Regions from separate parts of the Homo sapiens genome. Here region 2 is linked to region 1. Evidence: promoter capture Hi-C in human tissues and cell types (Jung and others, 2019). All regions are on one chromosome and are shown on one strand. The core of a region is centred on a gene start or on the middle of the fragment in contact, and the rest is flanking DNA. Distances in the headings are between cores, read along the strand shown. Region 1 holds the start of COG7 (component of oligomeric golgi complex 7). Region 2 has its middle 58 kb from the start of SCNN1B.

Region 1 (5,735 bases), core at 2,139-4,638:
GAGGGCAGGAACAAGGATAAGGGGAGGCAAGGAAAGCATTGCAACCCATGTTTCAGAATCACTTAGTTAATACATATAGAGCACCAAAAAGAGTGTCTGACATGTACCAAACCTCATATATGTGCTATTATATCATTATTATTATTATTTTTGAGACAGAGTCTCACTCTGTCACCCAGGCTGGAGTGTAGTGGTGGGATCTCTGCTCACTGCAACTTCTGCCTCCTGGGTTCAAGCGATTCTCCTGCCTCAGCCTCCTGAGTAGCTGGGACTACAGCGCATGTCACCACACCCACCTCTAATTTTGTATTTTTAGTAGAGATGGGGTTTCACCATGTTGACCAGGCTGGTCTGGAACTCCTGACCTCAGGTGATTCTCTCGCCTCAGCCTTCCAAAAGTGCTGAGATTACAGGCATGAGCCACTGCGCCCAGCCAATTTGCTATTATATTATTATTAATGTCCTTTCCTCTTTGCCCTACAAAGTTTTCCTTCAAGGTCTAACACAGGGCAAGTGCTTTATGATTCTCCTAAACAAGAAGTAACTGCACCCTCCTGACAGTTCTCACAACTCCAGATTCTATTCTGAGTAAAGCCATCCGTCATTGTAATTTACTGTTTCTATCTTCCCCAAAGGCAGCAAGCTCGAGCAAGATAAACTTTTCCTCCCCACTGCCCATTTCTGGACACATGCATAGTAGATGCTCAATAATTAGTAAAAGATGCAAGGTACAATAAAGAATAAGGGCTGGGCGCGGTGGCTCACGCCTGTAATCCCAGCACTTTAGGAGGCAAAGGCTGGAGGATCGCCTGAGCTCAGGAGTTTGAGACCAGCCTGGACAACATAGTGAGACCCCATCTCTACAAAAAATCAAAAAATTGTGCCATCTGGCATGGTGGCACAAGCCTGTGGTCCCAGTTATTCAGGAGGCTGGGGCAGGAGAATTCCTCGAGCCCGAGAGGTGAAGCTGCAGTGAGCACTGACCACACCACTGCACTGTAGCCTGGGTGACAAAGTGAGACCCTGTCTCAAAAAAAAAAAGAAAGAAAGAAAACAATCTGCAGTGAAATAGAGCCCCCTCCCTACCTTTTCTTAAACAATGGGCACATCTGGCCGGGCACAGTGGCTCATGCCTGTAATCCCAGCACTTTGGGAGGCCGAGGTGGGTGGATCACCTGAGGTCAGGAGTTCAAGATCAGCCTGGCCAACATCATGAAACCCCATCTCTACTAAAAATACAAAAATTAGCCAGGGGTGGGGCACGCACCTGTAATCCCAGCTACTCAGGAGGTAGAGGCAGGAGAATAACTTGAACTCAGAAGGGGGAGGTTGCAGTGAGCTGAGATGGCGCCACTGCACTCCAGCCAGGGGGAAAGAGCGAGACTTCGTCTCAAAAAAAACAAAAAAACAAACAAAAATGGGAACATCTCTTGGACTATCCACTCCCAGTGGAAGCAGTCTGTTTGGTCTTTCCATCTGAGCCTAGGAGAGAGACTTGTGTGCAGTACGTACTGAATCAACACACAGTGAATCAACACACGGTGAATAAAAGTCAAGTTGAGGAGTTACATGAAATGGTTGCCAGTGCATGTTATTTTTTATAATTTAACTTATCCTCAACAAATGGTTTAGGCCAGGCGTGGTGGCTCACACCAGTAATCCTAGGGCTTTGGGAAGCCAAGATGGGAGGATCACTTGAGGTCAGAAATTTGAGATCAACCTGGGCAACATAGTGCGACCTTGTCTCTAAAAAAAAATTTTTTTTTTTAATTAGCCAGGCATGGTGGCACATGCCTATAGTTCCAGTTACTTGGGAGGCTGAGGCGAGCGGACTGCTTGAACCCAGAGTTTGAGGCTGCAGTGAACTATGATGGTATCACTGCATTCCAGCTTGGGCAGCAGAATGAGGAATGAGACCCTGTCTCAAAAAAAAAAAAAAAAAAAAGGTTTAAGTCTCCACTGAGACCAGCCTATCTTCCTCAGCTGAAATAAAATCCACTAAAACAATGTTTTCTAGATCTGTGTCATTCTCTTATACCTATACTATAATACGTTTTTTCCAGATATATGGATCTGTTGGCTATTCTTTCATACTCTCAAAATTCACTTTTTTTTTCTTTTTACAGTTTATTGTTTGGTACAAAACAGGCTCTTTAACTCTTTGAATAAACACCTCACAGACTCGTGCTCCTAGATTACAAAAAGTCAAAGCCAATTTTCTTTGACACTGGGCTCTTGACTCTGAGATTCAAGTCACTATAACAGAAACTGGAGTTGTTTTATCTTATATTCTGGAAGGTGCCTCAACAAAGACATGTTAAGAACTGGTTAAAACTTCTAGCATTTAAAAAGATCCATCTTGTCTTCCAGTGCCTATGGATAATAATAAAAAGGGAATCCCAGAGATCTGCTATTGAATTATTTAGAGAAGAGCTACTGCAATAAGATCCACTCTTTTAAGTTCCAAAAGGAAACTTCAGGCCAGATGTGGTGGCTCACAGGTATAATCACAGTACTTTGGGAGGCCAAGACTGGAAAACCCATTATGCCCAGGAATTTGAATTTGAGACCAGCCTGGCAACACAGTGAGATCCCATCTCTACAATTTTTTTTTTAAACAGAATTTGTGGGGCGCGGTGGCTCGCGCCTGTAGTCCTAGCGACTCGAGAGGCGAGAGGATCGCTTGAGTGCAGGAGTTCGAGGCTGCAGTGAGCTATGATCGAGCCACTGTAGAGAGACCCTGTTTCAAAAGAAAAAACAAAGAGAAAGAAAGAAAAGAAAAAGGAAACTTATAGCCCAGCCAGAGGAGGAAAAACAACACCCAAAATTAGCAAGTGTTCAAGACAGCCCGGCACCCAGCTGAGACTCCCGCTGACGTGATCAGGAGTTCGGGGCTTGCTCTTTTGCCGAGGGTATTTGCTGTCCATGCGTGCCCCGCCCACCTGAGTGCCTCACGCAAGTTCGGTGACCTCTGCCCAGCCGAGAGCAGGGGAGGGTCCCGCGGCCAGGGCCCCGAGCGGCTCACCCTCCACGGCGTGGTTCACCTCTTGGATGAACAGCTGCAGCTTCATCACCAGGGTGGCTGCGTGGCCATCCGCCTTCCCGGACGCCGCCTCCTTGGAGCCGGCCCTGAAGGCCGCATTGATCCACTCCTTCACGTCGAAGTCGTCTGCCAGGAACTTGGAGAAGTCCATGGCGGAACTGCCTCAGGCCTGGCGTCCAGAACTTAAGAGTTGGCTCCGGGCGGCAACGGGGATGCAGAAGCGAGCGAGCCTGCGAGAGCACCGAGGCTAGCCTCCGAGGCGAACCCCAGAAACGCCAGGACGGGTAACTTGCCCCTTTGCGCTTCCCCGCTCAGCGCACTCAGTTTGCGGCTGGGAATGACCCTCGCCGCCCGCCGTTCTTCTTCCGGAAGTCGTTGGCCGTTACCATAGTGACTGCAGGCGTCCGGAGCGCTGAGCAGAGGTGGGTGTGGGAAAACGCCCCGGACTGAGAGCTCCCGGCACCGACAAATATCCCATGTCTGCTAACATTTGCCGAGGACTAAACTATATGCTTACTATAAAGCCCTGACATACATTAGCGCATTTACGCGGTGGCTCGCGCCTGTAATCCCAGCTCTTTAGGAAGCTGACGCGGGAGAATCGCTTGAGGCCAGGAGTTCTAGGACAGCCTGGGCAACAGTGGAGCGCAGTGGGCAGCAATGGAGTGCAATTGAACGATCTCTGCTCACTACAGCCTCAAATTCCTGGGCAATTGAACGATCTCAGCTCACTGCAGCCTCAAATTTCTGGGCTCCAGCGATCCTCCCACCTCAGCCTCCAGAGTAGCTGGGACTACAGGCGCGCGACAACACGCCCGGCTATTTCTTTCTTTTTCTTTCTTTCTTTATTTTTTTCTGAGACGGAGTCTTGCTCTGTCGCCCAGGTTGGAGCGAAGTGACGCGATCTCGGCTCACTGCAACCTCCGCCTCCCAGGTTCAAGCGAGTGTCTTGCCTCAGCCTCCCGAGTAGCTGGGATTACAGGCGCGTGCCACCACGCCCGGCTACTTTTTGTATTATTAGTAGAGATGGGGTTTCACCACGCTGGCCAGGCTGGCCTCAAACTCCCAACCTCAGGTGATCCGCCTGCCTCGGCCTCCCAAAGTGTTGGGATCACAGGCGTGAGTCACCGCGCCTGGCCTAACTAATTATTTTCTTAATGATGTGTTTTGAGGTGCAGACCTTTTAAAGTTTGTTAAGTTCCTTATCACCTTTTTTTATGGATCATGCTTTTGGTGTTGCGGCTGAGAAATCTGTGCATAACCCATAATCACAAACAATTTCTCAGCCTGGGCAACATAGGAAGACCCCGTCTCTGCAAAAAAATTAAAAATTAGCTGAGTGTGGTGGCGCACACCTGTAGTCTCAGCTACTCGAGAGGCTGGGGTGAGAGGATTGCCTGAGCCCAGGAGGTCGAGGCTGCAGTGAGCTGTGATCACGCCACTGCACTCCAGCCTGGGTGACAGAGCGAGACCCTGTCTCGAAAAGAAAAGAAGAAAAGGTAGGGGAAGGTATGAGGGTATTCTTTAGGTTCTAAGTTTTTATGTTGTTTCAAGAGTGGGACCAACCCAAGGGGGAGGACAAGATGTCATCCTTGGAAACCCTACAGGGGACAGTTTTCCAGGTTGGCCTGCCATTGGGGTATGAGTGGCTGGCTGCCATCTCCAGGCCTGATAGTCACTCGTTTTTCATTGGCATCTCCCTTGGTTTGTCTCATTCTTCTGGGTTGAGTAGGTTTTAACTGGGGTAACCCTTCTGCTAGGAGTCCCAGTTATTTGGGGGGAGGGGAGAGGAGGGAAGGAGAGAGGAGGGGAGCAATGCAGGGAGGGGAGACGAGGGGAGCAATCTGATAGTGTAAGTCCTCTTACTTTGCTCTTGTTAAAAATTTAGGCAGGACACAGTGGCTCACGCCTGTAATCCCAGCACTTTGGGAGGCCGAGGCAGGCAGATGATGAGGTCAGGAGTTTGAGACCAGCCTGACCAACATGGTCAAACCCCATCTCTACTAATAATAAAAAAATTAGCTGGGCATGGTGGCACGCGCCTGTAATCCCAGCCACTCAGGAGGCAGAGGCAGGAGAATCGCTTGAACCTAGGAGGCAGAGGTTGCAGTGAACCGAGATCCGCCACTGCACTCCAGCCTGGGCAACAGACCGAGACTCCATCCCCCCCAAAAAAAAAAAAAATCCTGCTGGGATTTTGACAGGGATTATGTTGAACTGTTGAATTGTTGGATTAATTTTAGGAGAATTGCCATCATGACAATATTGACTGTTCCAATCCATAGCATGAAACGCCTCTTCATTTATTTAGATGGGAATTTTTCAGCCTTGGCACTACTGAGCCCAGATAATTTTTAGTTATGGGGGCTGTCCTATGCATTGTAAGATATTTCGCAGCATCCCTGGCCGCTACCCATTAGGAGCAACATCCTCTCCAAGTTGTGGCAACCAAAAATCTGTCCACACAGTGCCAAGTGTTCCCTAGTAGGAATCACCCCTGGGGATTTAGATCTGATTTAGATCTTCTTTAATTTCTCTCAGCAATATTTTGTAGTTTTCATTGTATAATACAAGTCTTGCACTTATTTTGTTAAATTTATTTATTTATAAGTATTTCCTTTTCTAGGTGCAGTGGCTCATGCCTGCAATCCCAGCACTTTGGGAGGCCGAGGCAGGAGGATCACAAGGTCAG
Region 2 (5,262 bases), core at 731-3,230, 210 kb before region 1:
TAGTGGTGTAGTTCCAGTTTGAGTTCCAGAAGAAGAACCAATGGTTTAAGTTCCAGTCCAAGTCTGAAGGCCTGAGTACCAGGAGCACCAATCACTTAAGTCCCAATCCAAAGGCAGGAGAAGACCAATGTTCTAGCTCAAACAGTCAGGCAGAGAGATCACATTTTCCCTTCCTCCACCTTTTTGTTCTATTCAGGCCTTCAATAGATTAGATGATGCCCCATCCACAGTGGTGGGGCAGTGAGAAATCTACCATGTCAAGTCCATCAATTCAAATGCTAATCTCATTGGGAAACATCCTCTCAGATACACCCAGAAATAATGTCTAGCCAAATTTCTGGGCACCCCATGGTCAAGTCAAGGTTATAAATAAAACGAACTATCACACACAGTCCAACATTTCCACAATATCCTATTGGTTACACAGATTGGCCCTATTCACTGTAGGAGAGGATTATACAATGGCATAAATACCAGGAAGCAGGAATCACTGAAGATCATCTTGAAGGCTGATTAGCACAAACCCAAACTTAGATTCAACCCTAAACCCAATGCTATGCCTAACCCCTGAAACCTCAATCTAAGTGGGAAATGAAATGTAGTGTGTGTGTCTATGTGTGTGCATACGCATGTGTGTGGTGAGGTGCACTGGGACATGGTGCTGGGAAAGGAACTGAAGGCCAAATAATGGGCAACTTGAAAGTCAGGCTAATGCATTTGAGTCTGATTCTCCAGACAGTTGGTGTCATTGAAGGTTTTTGAGCCTGGGAGCAATATGACAATATTGGTTTCAAACCCGCAATCTATGAGCAGTGTGGCACATAACAGATGAAGGAAGACAGTGGTGGCAGAGGATCAGTTAGTTACTGCAATGATCCAAGCAAGAGTTTCTGAAGGTCTCAACTATATCAGTGACAGTAGGAGTGGAGAGGCAGTAATACCTTCATGAGAGATTTACAAGTGAGAGCCAAACAAAGCCAAAGTCAAAACCAAGTGTTGGCCAAGTGCAGTGGCTTATGCTTATAATCTCAGCACTTTAGGAAGCTGATAATTTGAAGGATAATTTGAAGCCAGGAGTTTGAGACCAGCCTGGGCAACATAGGGAGACCCCATCTCTAAAAAATATTTCTGTTGTGGTTGTTGTTTTTTGTGTTTTTTCAGAGATGAGGTCTCACCATGTGGCCCAGGCTGATCACAAACTCCTGGCCTCAAGCAACCCTCCTACCTTGACCTCCCAAAGTGCTGAGATTACAAGCATGAACCACTGCACCTGGCCTAAAAATTTTTTTCTAACTAGCCAGGCACAATGGCATGCACCTGCAGTACCAGCTACTTGGAAGGCTAAGACAGAGGATGACTTGAGGCCAAGAGTTTGAGGCTGCAGTGAGCTATGATTGCACCACTGCACTTCAGCCTGGGTGACAGAATGAGACCCTGTCTCCAAACAAACAAACAAACAAAACCTAAGTGTTAATTCTCCTTGCAAACCTTTCCCATACCTCAGACCTAACCACAACCTTGGCCTTGACCTAAACTCCAACACCAACACCATAACTATTGTATTCATCAAAAATGCTGTAGTGACAAGAGACAGCAACCCAATCCAAGCCATTATATGTTAAAAAGGTAAATTTTTGTACTGTATAACTAAAAATTTCAGAGAAAGATGAATCAGCCTTTAGGCATGCCTTAATCCAGGGGGTGAAATGATCTTATTAGGGCTATCTCTCTCTCAGTGCTTCAGAAAGTCTCTCTTAGTTTCCATGAACAAGATGACCCTAAGCAGCCCAAGACTCATATTCTGGAAGCTTGGCATCCCCAGAACAAAGAATCTCCAGTGTCCAAATGCTGAATCCATTCCTAAAGTAATCACCATAGCCAGATTGGTGAAGGCCTCTGATTAGCCAGGCATGTGTGTATATCATTTTAAACTACATACATAGTATCAAACTATACATATGCAAGCTTTAAATTATGTCCACAAATTCTTTGGCACTCTTTTCTTTCAAAGGAGGAGTCTAGTTCCTATTCCCTTAAGTGTGGACCAAACTTAGTGACTTATTCTTAATGAATAGAATATGGTAGAATTGATGGTGTATGACTTCCAAGGTTAGGTCATAAAAAACATTGTCACTTTCATCTTGCACTCTGTCAGACTGCTCCCTCTGGGGGTAGTCAGCTACCATGTCATGAGGATACTCAAGTAGCCCTGTGGAGGAGGCCCACATGGAGAGGAACTCAGGCCTCCCACAAGTGATCAGCATCAACTTGACAGCCTTCTATATAAGCCAACTGAGAAATGGATCCTCCAGCCCCAGTCAAGTCTTCAGATGACAGTAGCCCCAGTTGACATCTTCATGGCAACTTTATGAGAAACCCCCAACCAGAACCTCCCAACTAAGCTACGTCTGAATTCATCACTCACAGAAACGATGAAGATAATAAATGTGTCTTGTTGCTTAAAGCCACTAAGTGTTGGGATACTTTGTTATATGTCAATAGATAATTAATACACATATCATTTTGCATCATGCTTTTTTCACTTAATATTTTGTTGCTTGGCTCTCTCATATTGATATGTGTAGATTGGGTTATTTATTCTAATGGCCACAGCCACATTTTATTTATCTATTCCCTTATTGCTAGACTTCTAGGTGGTCTCCCGGGTTTTTTAAATTACAAACTGTGCCATAACGAACAGAGTTGTGCATATGCATAGGAGCTTTTTGGGCAACATATCAAGGTTTTTCTGGATAGTACCAACTTGTTCTCCAAAGTAAATGTCCCAAGAAATTTTCCCACTAGGTGTATTTGAGAGTAGCATTCCTCCCACATCCCTAAAAGCACTGATATTTTCAGAATCTCAAACTTGTTGCCATGCCAAAGAGTGAAAACCATCTCATTGTTCTAATTTGCATTTCCCTGATAACTGGTGAATATCCCCACACTATCTGGCCATCCGGAGCCCTCTGCAGTAATGGATGCAAAGCTCATCGGATACTCCAGGGGTCTTCATCTCTTCATCTCCCAAGGAATCTCCCATGATCCTCCATCCCTTGGGCAAATTGGGTTCCTTGTAACTGGCCTGATGGAATACCCAGAAACGCCTCAGTTGGCCAACCATTTTCAGAAAGAATGTGGGCTCCGGACCGCAGTCTGGACTCACCCAGTTGTTCCAGGATGGAGGCCCAGCTCCACTCTCTCCCTTGCCCTTAGGAAGTGTGGCAGCAAACGACAAGGGGCAGCTGCCAGCCGGCTGGGACCTTAGCCAGGGTACAGAGTCTTCCAGAAAAAGCACCCAAGATTTCAGCCTTCTGGAGAGCATCCCAGTGGGGCAAAGAGGAAAGTAGAGAGAGGAGACATCAGCAAACTTCCCAGCCTCCACTTCAGGCATGTGCTAGGACTACATGCCCCTCCTCATGCCCTGAGGACTGGCCAGTGGGAACACAGAAATAGAGCCTGGCCTTGGATTTCCCTCGGAGCTGGGCTCTGGGACCAGCCCAGGCCTCAAGCAGGACCTCTCTGTTCTCAGCCTGAGCCACACCATGCTAGCAACTTACTTGGCCATCCCACCATCCTGGGACTCTTCCCCCAGCTTCAGGAACCCTGTCTGGTGTCTGCAGCATGGGGCACTATTTACCAGAGATCAGTCATTTGCAAAGCACCCTCATAACTGTATATCATATCCATATGCCACTGCATAATTACTTAACATTAAAAACATCTACTGAATTTTTCCATTTAAACACATTAATGGTAAAGGGAAAGTTATAGTCCTAACCAGCATCAGTATTAGTTAGTCCTATTAAACACCATCCTCTGTTGTCTTTGTTTAAAAAAAAAAAAAGCTGGACACGGTGGTTCATACCTGTAATCCCAGCACTTTGGGAGGCCGAGGCATGCTGATCACCTGAGGTCAGGAGTTCCAGACCAGCCTGACCAACATGGTGAAACCCCATCTCTACTAAAAATACAAAATTAGCTGGGCATGGTGGCACATGCCTGTAATCCCAGCTACTCAGAAGGCTGAGGCACAAGAATCACTTGAACTTGGGAGGCGGAGGTTGCAATGAGCCAAGATAGTGCCATTGCACTCCAGCCTGGGCAACAAGAGTGAAACTCGGTCTCAAAAAAAAAAAAAAAAAAAAAAGCTAGCAAAAGTAGAAAAGTGTTAAAGACCTTCTTTAGACTAGGCGCAATGGCTCATGCCTGTTACCCTAGCACTTTGAGGGCTGAGGCGGGTGGATTACTTGAGCTCAGGACTCCGAGACCAGCCTGGGCAACATGACGAAACCCCGTGTCTACAAAAAATACAGAAAAATAAGCCAGGCATGGTGGCAAGTGCCTCAAGTCCCAGCTACATTGCGGGGGTGAGGTAGGAGGATCGCTTGAACCTGGAAGGTCGAGGTTGCAGTAACCTGGGATCGCACCACTGTACTCCACTGGGTGACAAAGTGAGACCCTGTCTTGAAAAAAAAAAAAAAAGAAAGAGCTTCTTTCATACCAAATTGAGATTTTCTGTGACTCAATATTGTTCAATGTCTCTAAGCCACTTAGTGAAAGGGACCAGTAGCTTTTCACCAAAATTCATTCTCACCTTTCATAGTAATAGAGTAGTTATGGGCTGGCAGTGATTAGAATCTCATTTTCTAGCCCACTTCCCTTGTGGTTTAGTATGGCCTGGGTGGTTCTGAATAGAATGTGAGTAGATGCCACTTCTACATTAGGGCTTTGAGACAGCAGGTGCCTCCTTGATAAGGTTTGGATGTTTTGTCCCCTCCAAATCTCGTGCTGAAACATGACCTCCAGTGTTGGAGGTGGGTCTGGTGGAAGGTATTTGGGTAATGGGAACGCATCCCTCATGAATGGCTTGGTGCTGTCCTCATGGTAATGAGTGAGTTCTTGCTCTATGAATTCACTTGAGATCTGGTTATTTAAAAGCACCTGGTACCTCCTCCCTCACTCTCTTGCTCCGTCTTTACCATGTGACATGCCTGCTCCCCCTTGGCCTTCCACCATGATTGGAAAGTTCCTGAGGCCCTCATTAGAAGCACATACCAGTGCCATGCTTCTTGCAGAACCTAAAGAACTGTGAGCCAAATAAACCTCTTGGCTTTCTAAGTTACCCAGCTACAGGAATTCCTTTATTGCAACAAAGACAGACTAACACAGCTCTCCATGCCCTTTCCTCTTCCAGCTCACTGAGCTAGTGACACATTGAAAGCCACGTTGAAGATGGCAGAGTCACCTAGCACCCTGAAG

What was found. Contacts are between HindIII fragments. The study calls those that stand out against the background at their distance.
Region 2: a fragment that was not itself captured here is called in contact with the fragment with the promoter of COG7 in region 1 in 2 of the 25 tissues and cell types used here (aorta and lymphoblastoid cells).

Annotation. Positions count from the first base shown.
Region 1 is chr16:23,449,801-23,455,535 of GRCh38, forward strand. It overlaps COG7 (component of oligomeric golgi complex 7), which reads right to left and starts at 3,389. Exons shown (of 17, transcript NM_153603.4): 1 at 3,026-3,389. The coding sequence starts at 3,194. LOC124903667 (a long non-coding RNA gene) reads left to right here and starts at 2,943. Exons shown (of 2, transcript XR_007065030.1): 1 at 2,943-3,465; 2 at 5,670-5,735. RefSeq lists enhancers at 3,049-3,378, 3,669-3,718. The HindIII fragment of the contact is 22,477 bases long and covers 1-5,735 here.
Region 2 is chr16:23,242,169-23,247,430 of GRCh38, forward strand. No RefSeq gene overlaps it. Among named protein-coding and RNA genes, the nearest start is that of SCNN1B, 58 kb to the right of the region's middle. The HindIII fragment of the contact is 3,421 bases long and covers 271-3,691 here.